4 separate regions of the Homo sapiens genome follow, and regions 1, 2 and 3 are each linked to region 4. Evidence: promoter capture Hi-C in human tissues and cell types (Jung and others, 2019). All regions are on one chromosome and are shown on one strand. Each heading gives the region's core, a stretch centred on a gene start or on the middle of the fragment in contact. The rest is flanking DNA. Distances are from core to core; before and after follow the strand shown. Region 1 overlaps RUBCN (rubicon autophagy regulator). Region 2 overlaps DYNLT2B (dynein light chain Tctex-type 2B). Region 3 overlaps BDH1 (3-hydroxybutyrate dehydrogenase 1). Region 4 holds the start of NCBP2 (nuclear cap binding protein subunit 2).

What was found. The method cuts DNA at HindIII sites, captures the fragments that hold promoters and counts their contacts. A contact is called where the count stands out against the background at its distance.
Region 1: a fragment that was not itself captured here is called in contact with the fragment with the promoter of NCBP2 in region 4 in 1 of the 25 tissues and cell types used here (aorta).
Region 2: a fragment that was not itself captured here is called in contact with the fragment with the promoter of NCBP2 in region 4 in 1 of the 25 tissues and cell types used here (hippocampus).
Region 3: a fragment that was not itself captured here is called in contact with the fragment with the promoter of NCBP2 in region 4 in 1 of the 25 tissues and cell types used here (dorsolateral prefrontal cortex).

The regions. Positions count from the first base shown.
Region 1 is chr3:197,697,069-197,703,468 of GRCh38, forward strand. RUBCN (rubicon autophagy regulator) reads right to left here. Exons shown (of 20, transcript NM_014687.4): 6 at 4,640-4,796; 7 at 3,545-4,078. Among named protein-coding and RNA genes, the nearest start is that of MIR922, 26 kb to the left of the region's middle. The HindIII fragment of the contact is 4,690 bases long and covers 2,806-6,400 here.
Region 2 is chr3:196,293,127-196,299,763 of GRCh38, forward strand. It overlaps DYNLT2B (dynein light chain Tctex-type 2B), which reads right to left. Exons shown (of 5, transcript NM_152773.5): 4 at 2,880-2,943. Among named protein-coding and RNA genes, the nearest start is that of PCYT1A, 8.7 kb to the left of the region's middle. The HindIII fragment of the contact is 5,937 bases long and covers 973-6,637 here.
Region 3 is chr3:197,539,332-197,545,933 of GRCh38, forward strand. All of the region lies in intron 3 of BDH1 (3-hydroxybutyrate dehydrogenase 1), which reads right to left. Among named protein-coding and RNA genes, the nearest start is that of BDH1, 13 kb to the right of the region's middle. RefSeq lists enhancers at 2,245-2,840, 2,547-2,841, 2,841-3,434 and a silencer at 2,447-2,741. The HindIII fragment of the contact is 8,756 bases long and covers 1-5,776 here.
Region 4 is chr3:196,937,090-196,943,874 of GRCh38, forward strand. It overlaps NCBP2 (nuclear cap binding protein subunit 2), which reads right to left and starts at 5,439. Exons shown (of 4, transcript NM_007362.5): 1 at 5,337-5,439; 2 at 2,162-2,343; 3 at 421-559. The coding sequence starts at 5,414. NCBP2AS2 (NCBP2 antisense 2 (head to head)) reads left to right here and starts at 5,585. Exons shown (of 1, transcript NM_001355243.2): 1 at 5,585-6,454. The coding sequence starts at 5,628. The coding sequence ends at 5,927. It overlaps NCBP2-AS1 (NCBP2 antisense RNA 1), which reads left to right and starts at 2,788. Exons shown (of 3, transcript NR_046630.1): 1 at 2,788-3,038; 2 at 3,885-4,053; 3 at 5,304-5,445. RefSeq lists enhancers at 4,771-5,444, 4,903-5,142, 5,173-5,312, 5,363-5,662, 5,445-6,118 and 1 more. The HindIII fragment of the contact is 10,051 bases long and covers 1-6,785 here.

The DNA.
Region 1 (6,400 bases), core at 3,901-6,400, 760 kb after region 4:
GCGAGTAAAAACACATACGAAATGAGCAACAGGTACATTCCCAACTCTGGAGTTTCAACACTTAACTGCACCCCTTCCCAAAGCCCTCCCAAGCAGGAGAGAGGCGGCACACCAACGGAACAGCCCAAGGGTACAGAAACACAGGGAGGGAAGGAGATGGCAGGTCAGTACATTCTAAGTGGAAAAGAAGAAACGTGATCCAGAATGGGGCAACATAAAGGAAAGAATCAAATCAAAATGGATTCATGGAATTTGCTTCTCTTTCCTTACATCTTTTAACCAAACATTACAGGAATATCAGCTGATTCCTATCCTCTTGACAAACCAATTTAGAAAAGTCTTTAGATGGTAAAACAAAGACAAGTGCATTGAAACTTTTCTGACATCTTGACATTAGGTTTTAAAGTAACATCAGAAGATTTACATTCACTAAGGAAATAAAATTCAGCAGCATCCTAAAAAGAAGCATCAAGGCAGTGCTGGAGAAGCCCAGGGAGAGGGCCCTGTAAGCAAAGGGCTCCGTTACGGGGCTCGGCCCGGCCTTACTGAAGAAGGGAGGGAGGGAAGGCTGGCGAGACAGACAATGCCTGGGACAGGAAGAGCGAGAGCTGGGAGGGAGAACAGTAGCAGGCAGGGTTTGCAGGAATGAGAAACTGATATTCTTCACAAGGAAACACAACATTTCCAGGACCACAGAAGGAAGAACAGGTGGAAAAGCAGGTGGGTGCTTGAAAATGAGCAGGATGCTGTGGGAGAGTGAATGACTGAGCTGCATCTAACCCATTTCCCTGACAGATGTTACCAACTTGCTCCTCTCACAAAAAATGCTACTCTGTGCAAGAGACAATTTTGTGTTCTTCTTGGGCCTCAAAGACTTCTGGTAGCCCTGGCTGTGGGCTCTGTTCCTTCCTACTGAACTGAGGACAAACTAGTAGTCGCCACGATGCCTTGGTAAAAAACCATGATATGACTTGGAAGGGACCTTCAAGATTCCCAAACAGCACACAACACAAACTCCAACACGACCTTAACCTCTTTACAACATGTGGCCATTCAGCCTTTACTTACTGAGTTCACTACCTCCTAATGCCACCATTTAACTAATTCTTAGAATTCCCTTACACTCGTTATCTGCCTTCTTCCAATTTCTTATCTCCTTAAGAAGAACGCTATTCTAAATGATGGTCCTACAGACTTTATTCCTCTTTAACCATCTGTTTTCCAAGCTAACATACCCAATGGCCTCACCCACTTCCAGGAGGCCACGGCTTTCAGCCCTCTCTCAATACTCTGCCTTGCAGACACATTCCAGTGTTCATGTCCATGAATTATGGTACCCAGGATGGAACACAAATCTCAGTTTGAACACCACCATGAACACCAAGGAAACAGACTGAAATAACTAGAAGAATCCTATGCAATAGCTGGAATGGGGTGCAGGGATTTATAGGGAAATGAAAACAGGTGAAAGAAAAAGGAAACGGAACTGCAGGAGAGGGAAAAAAAACAAAAAAACAAAAAACAAAAAAACCAAACATGCAAGTATATCTAAGACCACAGAAAGGGGATAAAATACATTCTGGTGTTAATTCAAGGAAAATAAAGTAATCCATAGGAAGTATTCAGTTATAAGAAAAATTCTGGGCCAGGTGTGGTGGATCACGCCTGTAATCCCAGCACTCGGGAGGCCAAGACAGGAGGATCACTTGAAGCCAGGAGTTCAAGACCAACCTGGGCAATGCGGTGAAACCCTGTCTCTACAAAAAAAAAAAAAAAAAAAAAGTAAAAAAAATTTAAAAAAAGAAAAAAAAGTCTGCTACTGATTCATCATGATGCCTCAGACAAATAGCAGGCCTCAGTTTCACCTTTGGGCAAAACTGAATTGATAAGTCTTGACTCTGCCTCCCAGAAGCTGTTGAGAGACTGAACGAGGCATTTGGAATTGTGTATAGAAAACACATCATATGAAATACTGGTATCATTTTATAGACAGTTCCAAGCATCACAACAAGACCAGGCTAGCCAGACTTGATTTGACACCAGACTGAAGGAGGTTCTGAACTAAGAAAGGTGGTCACAAAACAGAACAAAGAGGAGGTGGAGGACCGATTCCCAAACCTGCAATGGGATCTTCAACTATAATGGTGATATTCCTGGGGCCTCCTGCCGGTAGACAGACAGGTGCAGAGGAGAGTCCAGATAGAGCAATGAGAATACAGAGAGAGAAAAAAAGTGTCCTAAATTTTACCCAGCAGAAGTGGGGATGGAACTCCCAAGAGGAAACCCCAGTTGTGAAGGACGGATGGCTTGTCCAAGAAGCTGTGCGTGACCCATATTTCCTCAGATCCTTCCGCACACATTTTCGCGGGCTCCCTTTTTCCAAGGCAGGATTCCACTGGAATCCATATGGATTCAAGAATGGGGCGGGAAAGTTTTACATGCTCAAAGGCCAGTGGCTTGGAGTATGGCAGACATCAGGCCTGCAGCAGGAGATGTGAAGTGAGGGTCCAGCCCAGTCATCTTCACATCTAAGAAAGCTCATGGGAAGACAGGCTTTGATTTGGAGATTCTTCTCCTCAAGATTTCCAACAAGTTAAATCACATTCTTGAGGGAAAACAAAGACAAAAGTTTGTAATTCTGAAGGTTTCAGATGAGGGCCTTAGCTCTCACCTTTCCAGAAATTACAAAGAGAAAGCAACGCTATCTCCAGTTGCTAAAGAAACCGCCCCCTCTTTTTTTTAGGTCCTTGAATTTTTCACATTTTATTTTTATATTTTATTTCTGGGGCTTTCCTGACCCAGAATGGCTTTGAGCACAAAGCTCCATGCTATACTTCCTCTTATGGAGATCCTACTACAAACAAAACCCAACCAAAGCCTGCCGGATACCACAAGCCGGGAAGGATGATGGCAGGGAGATGGCAAAAGCAAGGAGCCCCACCTTCCCCACGAGTAGGCTGCCCCTGCTATCAGCTGGTGTTTGGTGAGGGAGGTCCCAGCTGCCAGGGCCTCCTTATCTGACGGCCTCTCACCCTGAATCAGTGATGCGGCCGTCAGCCCCACCGACTCAGTTGCTGGATCGCATCACCCTGCACTCACTATAGCCTTCGTTTTAATTAGAAACCCCAGTATCTCTCTGCCTCTCTCACATTGGTATTATTACACCCTGGGCAAACTTCTAAGACGTCACAGGAAATGACAGAACTTAATGGGATTATTTTTAAAGCTCAATAATACTTTCCCCAATCCAAGAGATACTTTGAAAACTCGCACTATGAGTCACGCTATCCTCTGATGTTACCAAACTAGTAAAGAATCCAGGAAAACATTTAATATTAGCAATGTATAAAGAAACAAACATAAATAGACTTAGAGATTTTGAGTCTCAGTATTTCGTTATAAACTTCTTTCATTACAAAATAAGATGTTGTATCACCAGAAACAGAACATCTCTTTCTGCCACCTGAAAAGTCCCCATAACAAGCCCTCTCTTACTCTCAATTCAGGGTCATCTTGCTAACTAGCAGCCGGTGTTCCTCATTACCTGGAGCTCCCCTGGAGGCAATGCTGGTATCCGAATGGGAGCGAATGTGGCTTTTCTTTGCCCCACTGGTGACAGTGAGTGTCTGCCCCTCTGAGAAGCTGGACCTGCGGAGGACACTGGACAGCTGGCTCTCCCCACCTCCTTCCTGGTCCCCTAAGGAAGAGGCAGCAGAATCTGGCTTCTGGGAGCTGCTGGAGGAGAACAAATTGGAACTGCTGCTCTCGGCATTGCTGCTGTGACTCTGACAGCTGGCAGTCCGGCCTCGGGGGTCCAAGTTGCCAATGGCCAGGTACTCAGGCCCCTCACTGGCATCACCTGGGGAATCATTCTGGCTGCTGACCCAGGATGCCTCTATGGGGCTGGTCAGAGTACTGGAGCTCATTTCATTTGGGGTCAAAGGGGAATCCCTGGCTAGTGCAGAGACTGAAACTGGGGGGGCTTGGATGGTTTGATCCTCTGCTGGTGAGACGTGCCCTCTGCTTTCTTGAGGTTTCCGGGGAGGGCCAGAGAGTGGAAAGGAAGTAGATCTTCTCTCTAGAATATAAAAGGAAATGGTAAGGGGAGCAAGGGTGAGGTGGAATCCTGCAGTATGTATGAAGGACTGGGTGACCAGGACATACGATGTCACCTCAGAAACGGCAAGCCAAATAAAGTACAAAATTATTTAGAAGCAGCTAAGTCAAGAGTATGGGCTCCTGAGACAGTGCTTTATTGCTTATTAGTATGCATTCCTCATCTGAAAAATGAGCAGTAAGAGGACTGTTTGAAGGCTCAAATGGGATAACACATACAAACTGAACACAACAGAGCCTAGTACATGATTGGCAATCATTCGGTGTTAGCTAGTATTGAAATGCCTTCTTGGCAATGTGGATTAGAAACCCAGGGGAATCTACAAACATCTCTCTCTTCTGTTACTTCATGATTCTACTGAATTATTTCAAGCTAGTCACTATATAACTTGTAAAGATGTCCCTTATTAAGAAAAACTACCAACCCAAGTCTCAATTTTCCAAGCCTATGAGCAACCACAAAGTCTTCTTACTTTCCAGGGCTGGGGATAAATGTAATGACCACTTTTTCCTGTCCCCATACCTGAGCCATTGTTGGGCACGGATTGGTGGAGGCTAGAGAAGGACCCAAAGTAGGAATGCTGAGCATAGCTGTTTGGAGGGGTGTATGTGGAACTGGGCAGGGCTGTCAGGCTCTGGCTCTTTGTCACCAGGAGCGGGCTCTCGTGCTTTCTGGCAAACTAAAAAGCAAAACAAAACCAAAAAATGTGTCAGAGTTAAGGACAAAGGGCCTCAGAGTGGGGGCAACGCAGTACTGCAGAAATGCCATAGAAGCTACCTTTGCAGTAGGCCTGGACTTTAGCCAGAGCCTGTAGATACAGCAAGGCTACCTTCTACTACAGTATGTAATTTACAACTGTGAAACCACAGCATCTGCACTGGAATCCTTCCAGGTGTTAAACCAGGAGTACTTTATTACAGAGGCAGCACAACAAAGTGCTGATGTATGTGGAATCAGAAGTCAGACAGACTAGGGTTCAAATCCAGGCCCTGACACTTATCAGCTATTTGATCCAAACTTTGGACCACGTATCTACTCTGTGCCTCAGCAGCCTCCTTTATAAAATGAGATCAATGCCCACTTCACAGGGTTATGAAGAGTCAATGACATGATACATTTATCATACATAGCACCGTGCCTGGCACATACAAAGTATTAAATGGATAGTAACCAACAATCAAAATTAAACGAATCAGGCCGGGCACAGTGCCTCACACCTGTAATCCCAGCACTTTGGGAGGCCAAGGCGGGCAAATCACTTGAGGTCAGGAGATCGAGACCAGCCTGGCCAACATGGTGAAACCCCGTCTCTACTAAAAATACAAAAATTAGCTGGGCGTGGTGGCGTGCACCTGTAATCCCAGCTACTCGGGAGGCTGAGACAGGAGAATCACTTGAACCCGGGAGGCGGAGGCTGCAGTGAGCCAAGATCATGCCACTGCATTCCAGCCCAGCCTGGACAACAAAGTAAAGACTCTGTCTCAAAATAATAATAATGATAATAATTAATTAAAAGAATCTGGAGAGATAGGGGATCTGCTTCTCTAAGAAGTGGGGACTCTGATTCCATTCTAGCTAAGGCACTGACTGGAGTATTAGTGATGGGATAAGTTAATTTTAGGCAACAAATTTTCTTTGTACTATAAAATTTTCTTTACATCAAAGAAAAAAACATGAAAAAACTGACCCCGTGTAACATTAAGCTATGCCAGGTCTGACACTAAACTCTATCCGATTCAAAACCATCCCTCTTTTCCCCAGATCTTTGTCAAGGCTTGGTATCCTTTGTCAAAAGATACCACAGGTTTAACAAAATCTACCTCCCCACTCCCCAGCTTAGGTCTACTAAGCACACGACCTAAGCCTAGACTTTCTACTTCAATAGGTACTTAACAGTACCTCCCCTCCTCCAAGCATTTTAAATGAAAGCTGGCCGGGCGCGGTGGCTCAGGCCTCTAATCCCAGCACTTTGGGAGGCCGAGGCGGGAGGATCACGAGGTCAGGAGATCGAGACCGTCCTGGCCAACATGGTGAAACTCTGTCTCTGCTAAAAATACAAAAAAATAGCTGGGTGTGGTGGCGGGCGCCTGTAATCCCAGCTACTCGGGAGGCTGAGGCACAAGAATCGCCTGAACCCAGGAGATAGAGGTTGCAGTGAGCTGAGATTGCACCACTGCACTCCAGCCTGGGAAACAGAGCGAGACTCTGTCTCAAAAAAAAAAAAAAAAAAAAAAAAAAAAAAAAAAATGCAAGCCTTTCAGCTCACAAAAATGGCTAAGTGAA
Region 2 (6,637 bases), core at 2,691-5,190, 650 kb before region 4:
TACAGGCGTGAGCCACCACACCCAGCCTAAAGTTTTTTATTACATATTTGTTCATTTGAGTATTGAGTGGCCCCCACTGGATGTTAATAGGCAGAAACCATGCCTGTCTTATTCATCATTTTGTCCCTAGCCCCTCAGGTGCAGAAGCTGACACATAATAGGAGCTCAGAACTATTTGTTGAATGAATGAATTGTATCATCTAAAGATGCATTTTTTGGCCAGGCCCAGTGGCTCATGCCTGTAATCCCAGCACTTTGGGAGGCCAAAGCAGGCAGATCACCTGAGGTCAGGAGTTGGAGACCAGCCTGACCAAATAGTGAAACCTTGTCTCTACTAAAAAATACAAAAATTAGCCGAGCGTGGTGGCATGCACCTGTAGTCCCAGCTACTCGGGAGGCTGGGGCAGGAGAATTACTTGAACCTGGGAGGCAGAGGTTGCAGTGAGCCGTGATGGCACCACCACTCTCCAGCCTAGGTGACAGAGTGAGACTCCGTCTCAAAACAAACAAACAAGATGCATTTTTTTTTTTTTTTTTGAGACAGAGTCTCGCTCTGTCTCCAGGCTGGAGTACAGTGGCACAATCTCGCCTCACTGCAACCTCTGCCTCCCAGGTTCAAGCAATTCTCCTGCCTCAGCCTCCCGAGTAGCTGGGATTACAGGCACCCAACACCACACCTGGCTAATTTTTGTATTTTTAGTAGAGACGGGGTTTCAGCATGTTGGCCAGGATGGTCTCAATCTCTTGACCTCATGATCCGCCCGCCTCGGCCTCCCAGAGTGCTGGGATTACAGGCATGAGCCACCGTGCCTGGCAAAAAAAACCATCTTCTTAGCTTGACTATTCCCCCAAAGATAGCTGATAAATTAAGATTTACATAGTACTTCCCACTGTCCAGCCCCTGATCCCTAGGGTAGTTAAGCATAAAATAAAACTTTGGTGGGGCTGGGCGCAGTGGCTCACGCCTATAATCCCAGAACTCTGGGAGGCCGAGGCGGGCCGATCACCTGAGGTCGGGAGCTCCAGACCAACCTAACCGACATGGAGAAACCCTGTCTCTACTAAAATTACAAAATTAGCCAGGTGTGGTGGTGCATGCCTGTAATCCCAGCTACTCGGAAGGCTGAGGCAGGACACTTCAACCCGGGAGGTGGAGGTTGTGGTGAGCTGAGATTGTGCCATTGCACTCCATCCTGGGCAACAAGAGCAAAATTCTGTCTCAAAAAATAATAAAAATAAAAATAAAACCTTGGTGAGACCATAGAATTTTAGAGCTAAAAGCTACCTTAAAATCATCTACATAAGCAGTGTCCATATCTGGCAGTCAGCAGAATCATGGGGAACTTTTTAAATATTCTGATTCACTGATCTAACCCCTGGCCTATTTGATCAGAATCTATTTGAATAGGGACCCAGCGTCTATATTTTAAACAACTTCCCAGATGATCCTTAGGCAGTCACAGCCAGTCTTTGGGAAAATGTACTTCAGCTTCCTAATGTCACTGATACAATGTGAGAAAAATCCAATGACTTACCTGAAGTCATTCAATTAGAAAGTGACAGAACTGGAGATGGAATCCCCCTCTTATTTCTTTTTACTTTTTTCTTTTTTCTTTTTTTAATTTTTGAGACAGAGTCTTGCTCTGCTGCCCAGGCTGGAATGCAGTGGTGCGATCTCAGCTCACTGGAACCTCCGCCACCAGGTTCAAGCAATTCTCCTGCCTCAGCCTCCCAAGTAGCTGGGATTACAGGCGTGCACCACCACACCCGGCTAATTTTTTGTGTGTGTGTTTTTAGCAGAGAAGAGGTTTCACAATGTTGGCCAGGCTGCTCTCAAACTCTTGACCTCAAGTGATCCACATGCCTCGGCCTCCCAAAGTGCTGAGATTACAAGCGTGAGCCACCCCACCTGGCCTCACTCTCTTAATTTACTCAATCTAGTTTCTGTTCTACTCTAACTCTGACTCTATGTATTCACAACCTGGGAGTAGACGAATAGAGGATGCAATCCTTTCTGGAGTAAATATAAAATAATAACTTCAATGAAACCTCTTTTATGTGTGTGTGTGTGTCACCCAGGCTGGAATACAGTGGCACAATCTCAGCTCACTGCAACCTCTGCCTCCGGGGTTCAAGCGATTCTCCTGCCTCAGCCTCCTGAGTAGCTGGGATTACAGGTGCCCGCCACCATGCTCGGCTAATTTTTATATTTTTAGTAGAGACAGGCTTTCACCATGTTGGCCAGGCTGGTCTTGAACTCCTGACCTCAGGTGATCCGCCCTCCTTGGCCTCCCAAAGTGCTGGGATTATAGGCATGAGCCACCGCGCCTGGCCTGAAACATCTTTTTAAAGATTCCTCTTTATTTTTGCTTAATTTTAATAAATGGCTTTAAGATAAAGTAATAAATTTTACTACTAAAAAAAAATGACCTTTGCTCATGGAATCCCTGCCATCCACATTTGTTTGCAACTTAGCAAAGTGTGATTGGTTCAAATGAACAAATAAGTGATTTTAAAATTTTAGTTATAAATTATTACTTTAATAAGGATTATCAGGATTGAGTTTTAGAACACTGATTTATGGAGGAAGTGGCTAAAAATAATGTTTAAATAATATGCTAACTAAATAATATGCTATTCAGAAATTCAAACCCATGAAAAATTATGTCATATGTAAACATGTAAGTTTCCTTGCCTATAAGCAGCACTCTAGGTTTCTGCTTTAGTAACACAAAAACTAACAGTAAAATCATTTCATTCACAAGTCAAAGATGAATGACTAAGACAGCAGTGTCTTTCCATCCCAATCAACAGTAAATAGTTTGATTTGCGGTGCCCACGTTCTTAGAAAGGGAAAAGAGGTTTCCAAATACACTTACATTCATGAAAACATCATGAGTATAGTTGTCAGTGTCAGCATCCCAGAAACAGCGAGAAGCCATGCTAAAAAATCCAAGAATGAAGAATTATCAACAATCTAACAAGGACCTAAACGACACATATCTGCCACGAGAAACAGTGTTCCTTAATACATTCTCATAGATCTGTACTTCCAAACCTTTCACAGGTAGGTACCCACAGAGTATTGTATTTGTACCAGAGAGTATACTGGGTAAACCGGAGAAACTAGAGTCAGATGAAGCTGCTTGCAACTAGAGGTGACCAGCCAGGTACTCTGACAGCCTCAGACCCTACCTGATGGCTACAGGGATCAATACTAGAGATTTGTGTGTGACTTTTAATGAGCTCAGCTCCTGCACAATAACAGGACGAGGAAGGCACAGAAAGAGCCCAACAGATTTAGTCCAACCTGATCATTTTATAGAGTCCCAGAAAAAGGAGCAAACTCTGAACTAGAATTCAGTCTTCTAACGAATTATAACTCCAAAAATATCTCTACAGAATGCTAAACTACCTTGAAATTGGCTATTCTCCTCTCTGCAATTCTTGGATAAGAAAAAAATATTAGTCAAAATAAAAGCCAATTAAAAATGGAAACAACTTAAATGCCCAATAGGACTGGATTGGTAAATGAAATTATGGTATTTCTCAGGATCTGGGAGAATTTTTTAAAAAAAGAAAAAAGAAATAATGATGTTTTCTGGCAATGAAATTCTATGTAGACCTTAAAGAAAAGTTTTGCAAGACACAGTGACGTGTCCCTGTAGTCCCAGCAACTCAGGAGGCTGAGACAGGGAGTATCATTTGAGCCCAGGAGTTCAGGGATGTAGTATGTGAAGATCACACCTGTGAACAGCCACTGCACTTCAGCCTGGGAGACACAGCAGGACCCTGGCTCTTAAAAAAAAAACAATTCTGCACTTTGGGAGGCCAAGGCGGGCAGATCACGAGGTCGGGGGATCGAGACCATCCTGGCTAACACGGTGAAACCCCATCTCTACTAAAAATACAAAAAATTAGCCAGGCGTGGCGGCAGGCACCAGTAGTCCCAGCTACTCAGGAGGCTGGTGTGAACCTGGGAGGCGGAGCTTGCAGTGACCTGAGATAGCACCACTGCACTCCAGCCTGGGAGACACAGCAGGACCCTGGCTCTTAAAAAAAAAATTCCAAGAACATGAAAAGCTATTCACAATATAATGTTGAGTGAAAAAAATAGGCTGGGCATGGTGGCTCACACCTGTAATCCCAGCACTTTGGGAGGCTGAGGTGGGCGAATCACCTGAGGTCAGGAGTTCGAGACCAGCCTGCCCAACATGGTGAAACCCCATCTCTACTAAAAATACAAAAATTGGCTGGGCATCGTGGCACACGCCTGTAATCCCAGCTACTCGGGAGGCTGAGGCAGGAGAATCACTTGAACCCAGGAGGTGGAGGCTGCAGTGAGCCAAGATTGTGCCACTGCACTCCAGCCTTGGCGACAGAGTGAGACTCTGTCTCAAAAACTAATAATAAATAATAATAATAAGTGAAAAAAAAATTACAAATGTTTTACATTTCTATTAAACGTATGTGTATGATTTATCATGCAAACACTTATTGAGCACTTACTTTGTGCCATTCACTAGTCTAAGTGTTTTACGTGTATTAACTCACTGAATCCTATGAGGTACTATAATTTTACCCATTTAGTGAATGTGACAAATGAGGATTAGAGAAATTAAGTGTACAAGGTCATACAACTAGGTAACAAAGCTTGGCTTTGCACCCAGGCAGTTCACAACCCATACCCACAGAGAAACATACACATATACCTTATATTATATTGGTTCTTTTTTTTCCTGAAACAAAAGGTCTCACATATTTATTACTGAACCCAGCCTACTATCGCAGGGCATATAAGCAAAGAGAAAAAATATATTCCCAATAAAACACGTCCAACTGTTCAGACAGTGGTGACGTTTTCAGCTTGCTATAGTAAGATGGCCGTGACCTTGATACAGCGTGAATATGTGTGCCAGCTCACGTGCAGTTCCTTATAGACCCAGCTTGGCTGTTCTGCAATGTCTCCTTTCCAGTTGTGCCTGATTTTATTACCAGTTTTCAACCAGATCCACTGGAGAATGGGACGATTTGGCTTTTGTTTCTTGGCCAGGAATCGCTTACTCTTAAAAGACTTGTGAGAAGACATGACAAGAAGCAGAATCAAGCACACACCACAAGAGAGAGTTGTTTGTTTTTTGAGACAAAAATATAAAATAGTGAGACCCCAATTGTTTTATTTATTTATATTTTATTTTTATTTTTTGAGAGGGAGTCTCACTCTGTCAACCAGGCTAGAGTGCAGTGGCACAATCTCAGCTCACTACAACCTCCACCTCCCGGGTTCAATGATTCTCCTGCCTCAGCCTTCCGAGTAGCTGGGACTACACACGTGCATTACCACGCCTGGCTAATTTTTATATTTTTTGTAGAGACAGGGTTTCACCATGTGGGCCAGGCTGGTCTCAAACTCCTGAGCTCAAGCAATCGGCCCACCTCAGCCTCCCAAAGTGCTGGGATTACAGGTGTGACTTGGAAAAAGTGTAATGGTACAGTTTGTAGCAGGCTAATAATGCTCCCACCAAGAACAGTAAGAAAAGCTGGATAAAATGAATCAGGGAGCTGCCAAAGCAAACAGGCCTAGAGGAGCCAAAATTCCAGAAAGAGGTGAACTCTAGGAGGTAAGCTGATATTCCGCAGCAGATTTTTTTCCTGGAGGATTTGCCAATTCAGGGCACAGGGCTAGATGCTGAGAATCTGGGCCTTGCTCAGGTAAAGAACAAATTACTGAGGGAAAATTTAACTAGTAGGAGAGTTGGCAGTCTTTACTTTTTAAAATTTTTTTATTTATTAATTTTACTTTGAGACAGAGTCTTGCTCTGTCACCCAGGCTGGAGTGCAGTGGCACGATCTCAGCTCACTGCAACCTCTGCCTCCCCAGGCCAAGCACTTCTCATGTCTCAGCCTCCCGAGTAGCTGGGATAACAGGCATGCACCACCATGCCTGGCTAATTTTTTTTTTTCTTTTTTTTTTTTGAGATGGAGTTTCACTCTGTTGCCCAGGCTGGAGTGCAGTGGCACAATCTTGGCTCACTGCAACCACAACCTCCCGGGTTGAAGCAATTATCCTACCTCAGCCTCCCAAGTAGCTGGGACTACAGGCACCCACCACCACGCCCGGCTAATTTTTGTATTTTTAGTAGAGACGGGGTTTCACCATGTTGGGCAGGCTGGTCTCGAATTCTTGACCTCAAGTGATCCACCGGCCTCGGCCTCCCAAAGTGCTGGGATTACAGGCATGAGCCACTGTGCTTGGCCCTAATTTTTTGTATTTTTGGTAGAGACGGGGTTTCACCATATTGCCCAGGTTGGTCTCCAACTCCTGAGCTCAGGCAATCTGCCCGCCTTGGCCTTCGAAAGTGGTAGGATTACAGGAGTGAGCCACTGTGCCCAGCAGAGTCGGCAGTCTTAACAAAGCTAAGGAGGTAAAATCAGATTCTGGAGGGAAGATCCCATAAAAAAGGAGAAAGTAGAACTGAGCGTATCACATGGTAGGTTTTCTTTTCAAGACATGCTGAATTCAGGCCGGGCACAGTGGCTCGCGCCTGTAATCCCAGCACTTTGGGAGGCTGAGGCAGGCGGATCACGAGGTCAGGAGATCGAGACCATCCTGGCTAACGTGGTGAAACCCCGTCTC
Region 3 (6,602 bases), core at 149-2,648, 600 kb after region 4:
GTTTTGCCATGTTGGCCAGGCTGGTCTCGAACTCCTGACCTCAGGTGTTCCGCCCACCTCAGCCTCCCAAAGTGCTGGGATTACAGGTGTGAGCCACCACGCCCAGACTATAGTTTATAGTTTAAAACAAAGATGGCAGCCCTTTCCCAAAACAAACCTCCTTCTTGCCTGGGGATCAGACTGTCTTTGTAGGACTAACAAATTAGGCACCAGATTACAAATTATAAACCATAATTTATAGCCATGCAGCTAGAGGCTACAAGATTCTGACCCTCCCTACACTGCTCCTAAGATCAGCGCTTGGGATACTTTGCAGACCCTGCACTGGATGGATCAGCTGGCACCACCCAGGTGGACAAACTGGCTCATCTGCTCTTGTGGCCCCGACCCAGGAACTGACTCAGCGCAAGAAGACAGCTTCAATTTCCCATGATTTCCTCTCCGGCCCAACCAATCAACACTCTGTCACTGGCCTTCCCCCACCCACCAAATTATCCTTAAAAACTCTTGATTCCTGAATGTTTGGAGAGACTGATTTGAGTAATAATAAAACTCTGGTCTCTTGCACAGCCGGCTCTGCGTGAATTACTCTTTGTCTACTGCAAGTCCTCTGTCTTGATAAACCGGTTCTGTCTAGGCAGTGAGCAAGGTGAAGCCATTGGGCAGTTACATCCCTAGTGGAACTAGATGATTTGTTCCTGTCTCCTTAAGGGCCACACCCTTAGCACTTTTTTTTTTAGACAGCGTCTCTCTCTTTCACCCAGACTGGAGTGCTGTGGCACAACCTTGGCTCACTGCAACCTCCGCCTCCCGGGTTCAAGCAATTCTCGTGCCTCTGGCTCCCAAGTAGCTGGGATTATTATAGGCATGTTCCACCACGCCCTGCTAAATTTTGTGTTTTTGGTAGAGATGAGGTTTCACCATGTTGGCCAGGCTGGTCTCGAACTCCTGGCCTCAAGTGATCCACCTGCCTCTGCCTCCCAAAGTGCTGGGATTACAGGTGTGAACCACCATGCCCAGCCTACCTGACATTTTTAAAAGTAACAAAAAGGTTGTGGCCGGGAGCGGTGGCTCACACCTGTAATCCCAGCACTTTGGGAGGCTGAGGCGGGCAGACACTTGAGGCCAGGAGTTCGAGACCAGCCTGGCCAACATGGTGAAACCCCATCTCTACTAAAAATACAAAAATTAGCAGGGCGTGGTGGCACACGCCTATAATCCCAGCTACTCAGGAGGCTGAGGCAGGAGAATCATTTGAGCCCGGGAAGCAGAAGTTGCAGTGAGCCAAGATTGTGCCACTGTACTCCAGCCTGGGCGAGAGTGAGACCTGTCTTAAAACAAAAACAAAACAAAACAAGTAACAAAAAGGTCTAGGCAAGAGAGCTTATTTCAGATTGACTTGCTGCCCGTCTTTCTCTAAACTGTCTCTCCATTGTCAAATATATTCAGACCTAAAATTAACTGAGTCTGGGTGTATTATACCAGGCTCTACCACTTATACCCAACAGTCAATGGCGCATTTCTACTCTTCCAGAGAGCAGAAGGTTCTATCTCGACTCACCTGCCCCCCCCACAGCAATACCCTGACAAGGTGGGTAAGGTGGGGCTGTGAATACTCCTGGGCGGGCAGCTCCAGCTAGCATGACAGTGCCTCCTGAGCACTGCTGGACTTCTCGGCCTTTCCTTCTTGGCCACTGCTGGGATTGCCTCATCCTACTCTAATTCCTCTTCCCTCAATTTGCAGCTCTTACAGTCGCTGTGGGATCCCCATCTTAGGGCTGCTTCTCAATTTGAAGGGGCCTTGGGACCAGGAAGACCTTACTGCCTCAGCTCTCAAAAGTTAGTTAACAAGCACTTGGGGAGCTTGTTAAAATGCAAACTCCCAGGTCCCTCCCGTTGACATTCTGATTCAGTAGGAAGGGGTGGCCCCAGAAATCTGCCTGTGTCATTCACCTCAGGGGATTCCAGTGCAACAGGTCCTGGGGGAAGAACTGGTTCATCTAGTCCACAGCAGTTGTTCTCTGGGCCCCTGTTTATTAGAATCACTTGGAAATGTGATCATGGTCGTGTGGTTATATTACTAAAACGAGTTCTTATCATTTAGAGATAAATATTAAAATATTTGCAAATGAAATACCATGTCCAGGAATTGCTTCGAAAATTAATCTGGTATGGGGAGGGGGAGGAAAATGGAGATGTAGCTGAAACAAGATTGGCCATGTGCTGATAATTATGGAAACCCAGGTGACAGGTACACCAGGGATCAATATACAGCTTTCTACTTTTGCGTATGTTTGAGATTCTCCATAGAATGATTTTTTTTTTCTTTTTAATCACAGGGAAGTTCTTTAAAGTATTCCTTTGCCTAGCCTCACTCCTGACCCAGAGGTGAGGCACAGACACTTTTTCCCTCACTGTTCTCTAGGTGATTCTAACCCACAACCAAGGTTCAATACCACTGCCCTACAGGAAAAGAAAAACAAAGACCTATCCCCAGGGGGTTCCCCTTTGAGCCCCTTGAATGCCAAAGCCCCAATATCCCTGTGAACAGCTGGAGGCCACAGCCCAGCTGAGCTGTGACAGACACTGCTCTTTGCCTGCCAGCATCCGTTCTTCTCATCTGCCTCACTAACAAGAATCTGGATTTTGTCCAGGGACAGCAGTGCGCCCAACGCTTTCCAGATTACCACCCACCTAGTGGTCACGTGACCTGCCTCTGGCCAATAGGCTGCAAGCGGAGGTCGACCACAATTGCTGAGTTTTGCTTTCCCGATGCAGGTGCGTTGCTTGTCCCTGCCTGGACTGAGGCTGGAGGTGAAGGACTATCACAGTATCCTGGGATCCTGAGCTGCCTTCAGAATAACACAGCAGAAAAAAACAAGGAGCCTGGGCTCCCCAAAGCCACAATGGCCCTAGACTTCTAGGGGTTCCTGCTATTCTTAGTGTGAGGCAATCCCAGCTCATACACTGGTCTCCCAGGGCTAAGAATGCCCATGAGGCGTTAGGCCCAAAACCAGCACATAAAATAGTGTGTATTTCCCTGGAGGGTCTCCTCTGCCCAGGAGGGTCCTGCAGTAACAGCAAGCTGCTGGCCAACCAAGCCACTAACACCAACAGCTATGCCGGTCTCAGTCTCTCGGGAGGCACAAGTTAAGCTCGAGATGGTCAACACGCTTTCTTTCTTGCTTGCTTTTTTTTTTTTTTTTTTTGAGACGGAGTTTTGCTCTTGTCGCCCAGGCTGGAGTGCAATGGCACGATCTCGGCTCACCGCAACCTCTTCCTCCCGGGTTCAAGCGATTCTCCCGCCTCAGCCTCCCAAGTAGCTAGGATTACAGGCACACGCCACAGGCCCGGCTAATTTTGTATTTTTATTAGAGACGGGGCTTCTCCATGTTGGACAGGTTGGTCTCAAACTCCCGACCTCAGGTGATCCGCCCGCCTCAGCCTCCCAAAGTGCTGGGATTACACGTGTGAGCCACCGCGCCCCCACCGGTCAACACACTTTCTGAAGGGAGAGCCCAAAGGGGTGGCTGTGAGGTTCAGAAGACGAGAGCTTCCTGATTTTTGCCCTAACCCAGGAACAGAATGAGAGGGAGGAAGTGGTGCAGTCTGGCACCTCCCCAAGGCCCTGTGGAAGAGCCTGCTGTCCTCAGCGCCCTGGTCATCCCGGCCGCATTTGAGAGCGCTCCCTATGCTGGCCAGGGCGTTCATTCTGGCTTCTTCTCTATCTTACCAGTCTGTGTGTCTGTGCCTTTTATTGTCCCCATCAGGAATCAGAAACAATAACCAGTAACCCAGCTTTCTGCTGAGAGGAGCCATGAGTCCATTTGAATCTAACAAGACGGGGCTTAGGAGGAACACATATCAGTGGCACAGGTGCAGCTCGGGAGAAATATGGCCTCACGGCAGCATCTGTGAAAAAAATTTAGCCTGTTTGACCATGAATCCCGCATGTGATGTGGCAGCCAAAAGAAGCTATGTGAGCCTAGGCTGGACAGGAAAGAAACTAGGATAGGGGAGGCAAGAGCCCTTCTCCACTCTGCCCGGGTCAGGCCACCCTGGGAGCACTATGTGCTGTACCTGGCCTGGCAGAGCTGAGCACTGGTGATCACAGCCCAGGAGGCAGGGTCCCAGATGTGAGCAAGGCACCTGCCCCAGGGATGCCAGAGTCTTCTGGCAAAGCCAGAAATCTGAGAAATCTGAAATCGGAGGGCCATGGGGAGCCAGTAAGCACAGCAGGTTGTCAAGTGTTGGGGTTGGGGGCCTTATCCAGCCACTCCTGGGAAGGTTTTCATCTGGACGGAGCCATGTGTACTGGGTGATGCCTGCTCTGGGCATGTCAAGAGTGGTGGGTGTTTTGTTCAGGCACCACACCTTAAGAAGGAGCACAGGCAAAGTGCAGACCATTCAGCGGGGAGACCTGGATGATAGTGGGGAAACCATGAGAGATAAACAAGGAGAAACCATGTGGGTGGAGTAAGAGTAGACAAGTGGGTGGGTATTGAGGTGGCACAGTGCCCCTGGGGAGAAGGGAATAACTCGCTCAGTGTGAATGCAGGGGCAGACCCAAGAACAAGGAGTGGCATTAACAGGAGAAAAGATTTCTCCTCAATAAGGAGATGTCCAAACACAGGAGGCCTGCTATGAGAGGTACTAACCTCTCCATCACTGGACATATTCAAACAGAGGCGATAAAGTCACTTGGTAAGGATGCTATCAGCAAGATTCACTCACAGGTGCAGACTGGAGTATGAGGCCCTTTCCAACTGAGACTCAAGCAAAATGATCAGGCCAAAGTTTTCCCTCTGAGGGACTGTGGGATCCTAGGCATGGCGATTACCCACCATGCCAGCCTCCTTCTGTACCTGGGTCCCCCTCCACGCTGCCCATACCTTCACCCTACGACATTGACTCTACTCTGACAGCTCTGCGGCTGCCCAACCACCACCCAGGCCCCTCAACCTAACCAAGTTACTTCTCAGTCCATCCAGAAGATTCCAAATTCCCTTTGACAATCTTTCTTTCCCCTCAAGTGAGCCAGGAGCTTGACTAATGCCTCATTTTCCTTACATTTAAGAACAAAACCTTTGTAAAAGTATTTTAACTTCATGTGGGATTATCTTCTCCTCTATAAAAAAACTCCAGAAATCTCTAAAAGCCATGTTGGAGACAGATCTTGCCATCTTTATGAATCACTCACTGAAAAAACAATTGCAGCAAGTCACCTTCTTTCAAAAGCCCTTCAACAAAGCCGAGCTCCGTCCCCGCTCTGATGGCAGGGGCCTCCGCCGTCCCCGCTGTGATGGCAGGGGCCTCCTGCCGCCTGTGCCAATGGGGCATTCTAAACTCTTCTCATGTGGGGTCCTCAGGTAGGTGGAGCCCCAGCTCCAAGCCATGCCTCTGTATCTCTCAGAAATAAATTCAAGCAAATGCTGCTAAAAGCCGGGCCGGGCGTGGTGAATCCCAGCACTTTGGGAGGCCGAGGCAGGCGGATCAGTTGAAGTCAGGAGTTCAAGACCAGCCTGGCCAACATGGCAAAACCCCATCTCTACTAAAAATACAAAAAATTAGCCGGGTGTGGTGGCACATGCCTGTAGTCCCAGCTACTTGGGAGGCTGAGGCGGGAGAATTGCTTGAACCCGGGAGGCAGAGGTTGCTCTGAGCCAAGAGGTTGCCACATTGCCTGGGCAACAGAGTCTCAGTCTAAATGCATGTTCCATTAAACATATTATTGGCATAGAAATATCAGTGTTCTAGATCCTGGGACTTTGAATTTAACATAATCTTCAATTTCACTCCCCTCAAATTCACTCCCCTCAAATATAACAGAAAGAAAAAGGTATTTCTTGTTTTTTCCTTGCTCAGACTGCAAAAGAGTAAAATGTGGCAGCAGAGCCCACTGAATCCCCTGGGAAAAGGCAATTCCAGAAGCTCTCAAAGAAGAACAGCTGCTTGTCTAATTTGTACTTATATAATGCTTCCTCGAAATCACACAAACGATGCGGTGAAGGTTTGGGACATCTCGGCTAACTGATTTCATGCATAAAGTTTTAAAAGAGCAGTTATCAAAATAATGTACCTCCTGGCACGACGGGCTGAGAAAAGCACCGCTTCACTGCCGCAGGCGTCTTGCCACACAAACCCAAACTGAGAGACATTGTACAACATAACCAGCGAGAGTGTCAAGGTCGTGAGCGAAAAAGACTGAAGACCTGTCCCCGGCAGGAAGAAACTAAAAACACATGACACCTCCGAGCCATGTGGGATTTGGGATTCGATCCTGGACCAGAAAAAGGTCCATCAGCAGCCACTTGGCAACACTGGAATAAGGTCTGTAGACTAGTTAATAGTATTCTATCAATGGTAATTTCCTGATTTTGATCATTGCAGTATGGTTTTGTAAGATGTTAACATTTAGGGAAGTTAGCTGAAGGGGATCCAGAAACCCTTTCCAACGATTTTTGCAACTTTTGTATAAGTCCAAAGTTATTTCAAAATAAAAAGGGTTTTAAGAAGTGGTTATGGCCAGGCACAGTGGCTCATGCCTGTAAACCTAGCACTTTGGGAGGCCAAGGCGGGTGGATCACCTGAGGTCAGGAGTT
Region 4 (6,785 bases), core at 4,189-6,688:
GGAAAGAATCCAGAGTTACAGTATGGAAAAGAATGGTGTAACAAATATGCCTCCCACAAACATGTTAGACAAACAGTGAAACCTGTTCAGATGCCACAATGTGAACATTTCAAGCAGGACATATGCACTTCAGCTCACTTCAGTGCGTTTTGCTTTCATTTTAGATGTTCCTGCAGGTGGAAGATACCTAGCCCTAGCAGAAGTTCAAGAATGGTTGCTTGTTAGAAACGTACAGAACATACCATTTCACGGTTTAAAAAAAAAATTCACCCAAACCGTTGGGTGGTTTTCAGATCCACTTCAAGCCAAGGTTATAGACACAAAGTTATTTACAAAAGAGTAAATACAAATTGCCAAAACACCTGTCATTGTGACTGGAATCCCAGGCAATGGCTGAGCCCAGAGACCCTTCTTGCATACCTGGCCCCCAGATCGCCCACGGCCGTATTGCCTGCCCTCCTTAAAGCCTGCGTCCCAGTCTGTGCGAATGATTCGGTCATCCAGACGCGTCCCATTTATGTACCGCATGGCGTTTTCCGCATCTGCGCGTGAGTAATATCTTAAGTATTAAGGAACACTAGCATTTTTCCAAACATTTCTGGAAATAGGGGAACAACATGTAAATGAAGCTGAGTTGTTAAAAAGTACAAGAGCTAATCCAACCAGATGGAGTTCAAAGACAGTAATTCAGCTTGCCCAGGCCTGTTTGCGATTGGTTTGGAAGCACATAGAGTCAAATATGACACGTATCCATGGCTACACTGATCATATTTCTTGGACATTCCTGTTGATAATTTTTGGTCCCATCATCTCTGTATTTTGGTTTGCAAGTTTAGATCACTGTACACTTCTTATCCAAGAAACCAGTGCTGTATATTCAAGTTAGGTTCTGTACATTCCAAGGCACCCTAATCAAGAGAAGGTCACCGTGCACGTGGAATTGTGCTGCACTTCACTAAAGGAAAGACTCAAGCTGTCACCAAGGTAGCAGTTCCCAAACCTACTTCATCAGAGACCTCCCTTTAATTAAAGGGGAAGACATTTAATCTCAGACAAATAAAAATAAGACAACAGTGTTCTGAATAAACCATCTGGAGAAACTAGTATCTTTGATGTTAGCAAGCCAAAATAAAATCTCTTTTCATTCTAGCATTTGGGAAACCTGTGTATCCCCGAGGCAAGCCTGCAATCTGGGAGAGAAGCCCTGCCTGGGTCCAGTGAGTCAGCATTCTTTTCCTTAATTATGAGCAGAAATCCAGGGATCACCAGACACTTAAGGAAAAATTTCAACCGAAACAAACATAATTCAGGGCACAGGAAAAAATTCAAAAGATATATTAAATTGGGCCTGCAAAATTTCTCAGAATATTAAATTGAATGACCAAAACATACAGTAAAAAGAACATAGGATAAATCCAAGAGGTCCAATACTTAAAAGAGTCTGAGTAAGGGAATTAAATGATCAAAGTAAATAGTTTTGGTTTGTACCTATACAGTCAGGTTATATACATCTATATAATGAAATACTATACAGCTATTTACTTAAAAGTTTTTTTCTTTAAAGATGGGGTCTTAACCCGTCACCCCCGCTGGAACACAGTCACAACTCAGTGCAGCCTTGAAATCTTGGGCTCAACTGATCCTCCTGCCTCAGCTTCCTGAGCAGCTGGCACTACAAACACCAGCCACCATGCCCAGCTGTACAGCTATTTTAAAAAAAGACCTACATATGCTGAAATGGAACAATAAAAAATAAAAAAATGATTTTAAAAACAGCACATGAAATACACTACCGCACACCCACAGGGTTACTTCTTGAAAGACGCCCAAGAAACTGGTAACTGACTGCCTCTGGCAAAGGGCATTAGGGGTTTAGAACAGTACGAGATTTTTATATTTTCACTACATTCTTTGGAATTTTTTTTTTTTTACGTGAAGGGCAAACATTCTTGAAAAACTTTTTGTTAAAGAACCATAAAGCATGGATTTCAGAAGAGAATATAAATAGTATCAGCTTTACAGTATAAGGGCAGAGACACACTGGGTGGAAAGTAGGAGGGAGATGAAGGAAAACGTAGGGACGAGTGCAGGGACGCTTATGAGCTACCACTCTCAGCTCTACCCTGGTTCAGCAGCTACATTAGATCCATGGGAAGGATACTCCACAAAACAGAATCCACATGCTGTTTTCTTCATTTTATCCAGACCCATAATGATTTTCTTTATGTCACCACTTTTGCTGAAGAGTTCATAGATTTGTTCTTCAGTTGTGTAAAAAGAAAGATTTCCAACATATAACGTACAGCTTTTCTTCAGTAATTTTTCTTGTTCTTCATTGTCACCCTAGAATTTCAAATAGAGACAAAAGTTAAGCAACTTCAGAGCCTTGCTTAAATAGTATTTCTAAGTACGGTAGAGACATTCATTAATTCTGGTTTGGAAATCAACTTCTCTCATCCCAGCCTACCAGAAATCCCTTGCCCAAAAAGGGGGATGTCGACCTTCTGTGAAGCACTTATGCGAAGTCCAGACTCTTAGTAGAGACAGGGCTCAAAAGTTATACCACATACAACAAAGTCACTTCTACGCCCGACTGCCACGCAAGCGGCTTCCCTTTTCCCTGCACACACCATATCCTCAGCAGTGCATCCTTTAAACCCAAGTGTAGACTCTGGACCTTGACCCAATATATGACAAAGGGCCCTTTTATCCTTCGTAGTGAAAAATAAGTGGGTTTTCAGAGAGAGAGAGAGTTCCTCTTTAATAACCCCCTAGAGACTGTTGAAAGCCACAACCTTGATGCTTTACGTGCTCATAGATCTTTCTCTGAGTTTAGGGGAAAATGTAGTGATCACTAAAAACAAAACAGAGCTCACTTTCTTAATGGGCTTCCAAATTGGGATGACAGGATGAAGCCAGAGACTTAAGCATATAACTGGGCTTCATCCAACACACCTGACAGACAAAGCCCTGGGTCCAAAATGGCTCATCGGGGTCAGGCGCGGTGGCTCATGCCTGTAATCCCAGCACTTTGGGAGGCTGAGGCGAGTGGATCGCCTGAGGTCAAGAGTTTGAGACCAGCCTGGCTAACATAGTGAATGAAACCCTGTCTCTACTAAAAATACAAAAATTAGCTGGGCATGGTAGCAGCGGGCGCCTGTAATCCCAGCTACTCGGGAGGCTGAAGCAGGAGAATCGCTTGAACCTGGGAGGTGGAGGTTGCAGGGAGCTGAGATTGCACCACTGCACTTGAGCCTGGACAACAAGAGTGAAACTCTATCTCAAAAAAAAAAAGTCCACAGGACAATAGTCATTGTATGTTAAAAAGAGGTTTTCGGAACTTTGGAGTGAGACATTAGAGAAAGTAAATTCCTTTCATTTTACTGCTGTTACTGATTTGTGAACATGGAAAGGAGGCATCTTCTTTTTCTACTTTTCTCACACATGTAAGTAAGATCCAAATAAATAGCCTACAGTTTAAGATAACTGTGGTGTAAGTGCTTAAAGTATATTAATATGGATTCCATTCACAGAATGCTAGAAATTCCACATGACAGTATGGCATTAGCATCTAAAAAAAGCTACAGGTTTAGACTGAGGAGATGAATAATAGACAAAGTCAGAAGGTTCCAGTTTTCATCTCACAGGATGCTTTAAGTTCAAAATGGTCAGGATGTGGAACTGTCTAAAGTAGTAACTAAAAGTGGTAGAAGTGCAAATCATGCCTGGCACTTAGGCATCCCAGCACTTTGGGAAGCCCCAGGCAGGTGGATCGCTTGAGTCCCAGAGTTCGAGACTGGCCTGAGCAACACAGGGAGACCCTGTCTCTACAAAAAATTAGCTGGATGTGGTGGCGCGAGCCTGTGGTCCCAGCTTCTCAGGAGGCTGAGGTGGGTAGGATCACTTAGGCTCAGGAGGTTGAGGCTGCGTGAGCCGTGATTGCGCCACTGCACTTCAGCCTAGGCAATAAAGCGAGACTCTGTCTCAAAAAATAAAATACATTAACTGAATAAATTTTTTTTTTTTGAGAAGGAATATCGCTCTGTTGCCCAGGCTGGAGTGCAGTGGCGCGATCTCACAGCAACCTCCACCTCCCCGGTTCAAGCGATTCTCCTGCCTCAGCCTCCCGAATAGCTGGGATTACAAGCGCCTGCCACCACGCCCGCCTAATTTTTGTATTTTTAGTAAGACGGGGTTTCACCATCTTGGCCAGGCTAGTCTTGAACTCCTAACCTCGTGATCCACCCGCCTCAGCCTCCCAAAGTGCTGGGATTACAGGCGTGAGCCACCGTTCCCAGCCTTGACTAAATAAATCTAAGAGCTTCCCTAATTTAGCGTCAAACAAAATTTCCCTTTCCCTACTCTAGTAACACATTTCACACATTCTCCACACTTACCCTCTGCTATATGCGCCCCTTCCTTTCCCAGTCACAAGGGGATTTTTCCCTTTTCTGAATCCTCACTACAGGGGATTATGAGCTCGCAGAGCGCAGAAACTGTCTTCCCTCTCCCTCTAGGGTTTAGCACAAGGATTTGGCGACAGCACTCGATAAACGTTTACTAAATAATTGGGTTAATGAGTCCCGCCCCGCCAACCCCCAACCGTATTCCATCCCTACCTCCGCTGATACTGAAAAGTCTACTTTGAATATCTGCTGCCTCCCCTTTTTCCACAAAATATACTGTGATATAGTCCGGACTAAAAATTTCCCTCTTCTGAAATCCAGCAATTCTCCGATCTTTACATCCGAACACCCTCAAAGTGCCGAGCTTGGCGGGTCCACCTCCCCACTCCGAAGCTTCCCCGAGGGCGGAGTGAGGACTCCACTTGTGTCTCCCACGCACCGCGTACAGCTTCCGTAACACCATCCTCCCAGAGAAGGGGCCCGAATCGCCGAAGGGCACTGCTTCGCCGATTTAAAAAACAAAGCAAAAAGCCCCGCATCTGCATCAGGAAGGCGCCTCTGCCTACTCTGGGAGAGAGAAGGGCACCCCTCCCCCTTGCTACGTAGTCGTCTGCGGAGGCACAACCGTGGAAACGGGAGCCGCCACCACCACCACCGCTCAAACCTCTCGGCACTGGCTGGGGTACAGGGAGCGGCTGCGAGCGAATGGGATAAGCGAGCCTCCAGTTCCCCGTCTTCCAGAGCAAGTGGCTTCAGTGATATCCAAGCGCCCTTCCAGCACCCATTCCCTGCCTCGCCAGCAGGCACCGGGGCCCCACTTGGCGTTTGCGGATTTCAGCTGAATGGGAGGCGACACAATGAGACAAGAGCAAACCGTTTCTCAGCGTTCTTGCCCAGGGCCTTCCCGTCTCGCGGCCCGGCCTCCCTCACCCGGAAGTGCTGGTCCCGGTACTGGCTCAGCTCCACGTAGGAGTCGCTGCGCAGCGCCTTCAGGAGGCCACCCGACATAGTGCAGAGAAGCGGACCACAATGCGGCGACTCCCGGCACGAGGCTGCGTCCGCGATGGCGGAAGCGGAAACGCGCGGAGGCGAGCATCTCATTGGACCCAATCCGAGGGCGGCGTGTCGTCATCAAGCTGCGCGGGGGCATAGACGTCCGGGTCGGGCGCCGCGGGGCGGAAGACGAGGGCGGCGAGGTCGGGTTCCGGGCGCTTGGAGAAGATGGTGCTGCGGCGGCTGCTGGCCGCCCTGCTGCACAGCCCGCAGCTGGTGGAACGTCTGTCAGAGTCGCGGCCTATCCGACGTGCGGCGCAGCTCACGGCCTTCGCACTGCTGCAGGCCCAGCTGCGGGGCCAGGACGCGGCCCGCCGCCTGCAGGACCTCGCGGCTGGGCCCGTGGGCTCCCTGTGCCGCCGCGCTGAGCGATTTAGAGACGCCTTCACCCAGGAGCTACGCCGCGGCCTCCGAGGCCGCTCGGGGCCACCACCAGGTAGCCAGAGGGGCCCTGGCGCAAACATTTAATCCTGGGCTGTGCGGGGCCGAGGCCGCTTGCTTTTCCTTCCGGGCTCTACAGTGGCATCAATGTGGAGGGGTCATTCCGGGCACTGCGCGCGGCTTCGAATCCCGACTGGGATTGTTGGCCTGCAGACATCCCACGCATAAGAGCCTAGGCCAGACCGCCCGCTCCGTTGAAGTCTTGTGATTGGACAAGACACAGTGTGGAGACAGCCCTAAGCCTAACAGAGATGAAGGTAGGCTGGGTCCAGACACGGCACCTACGGAGAGCCACGGACCGAAGCCAGAGAGCCTTTCCTCTGCAAGTGGGACTGAAACTCTTGACAGATGCTGCTCAATCTGACTGGTATAGCAGGACAGTTAATTCCAGGGACGATATGGATGAAAAGACAACCCTACAGCTGCCAAATTCCTTTGATTAAATGTGTGAGCTGGTTGATAGGCATGAGTGTGATACTTCTCAGGCAAGATGTGTTAAGAATACCGGGGACTGTAGGCCTATGGTAATAATAAACACGTATTTTATGAAATGAGTCTTCTGTGCTGGGACTTGCTCATTGCACTCTATGTGTTATCTCACTCCTTACAACGACATTCACATGAGGAAGCAGATTACTTTTTGGATTTTTTTGTAGAGATGGGGTGGTCTCGAACTCTTGGGCGCAAGTGATCCTCCCGCCTCAGCCTCCCAAAGTGCTGGGATTATAGGCAAGAGCCACTGCGATGGAAACAGAGGCTGCTGCTTAAGTTGCCCAAAGTCTTGCAGAGTGGGATGTGAGCAGAGGCATTTGACTCCAGGGCCTAAGTCCTTAACACAGCTCTGCAGCATTTACCCTGATACTCAACCCCTTCCTTCCCCAACCC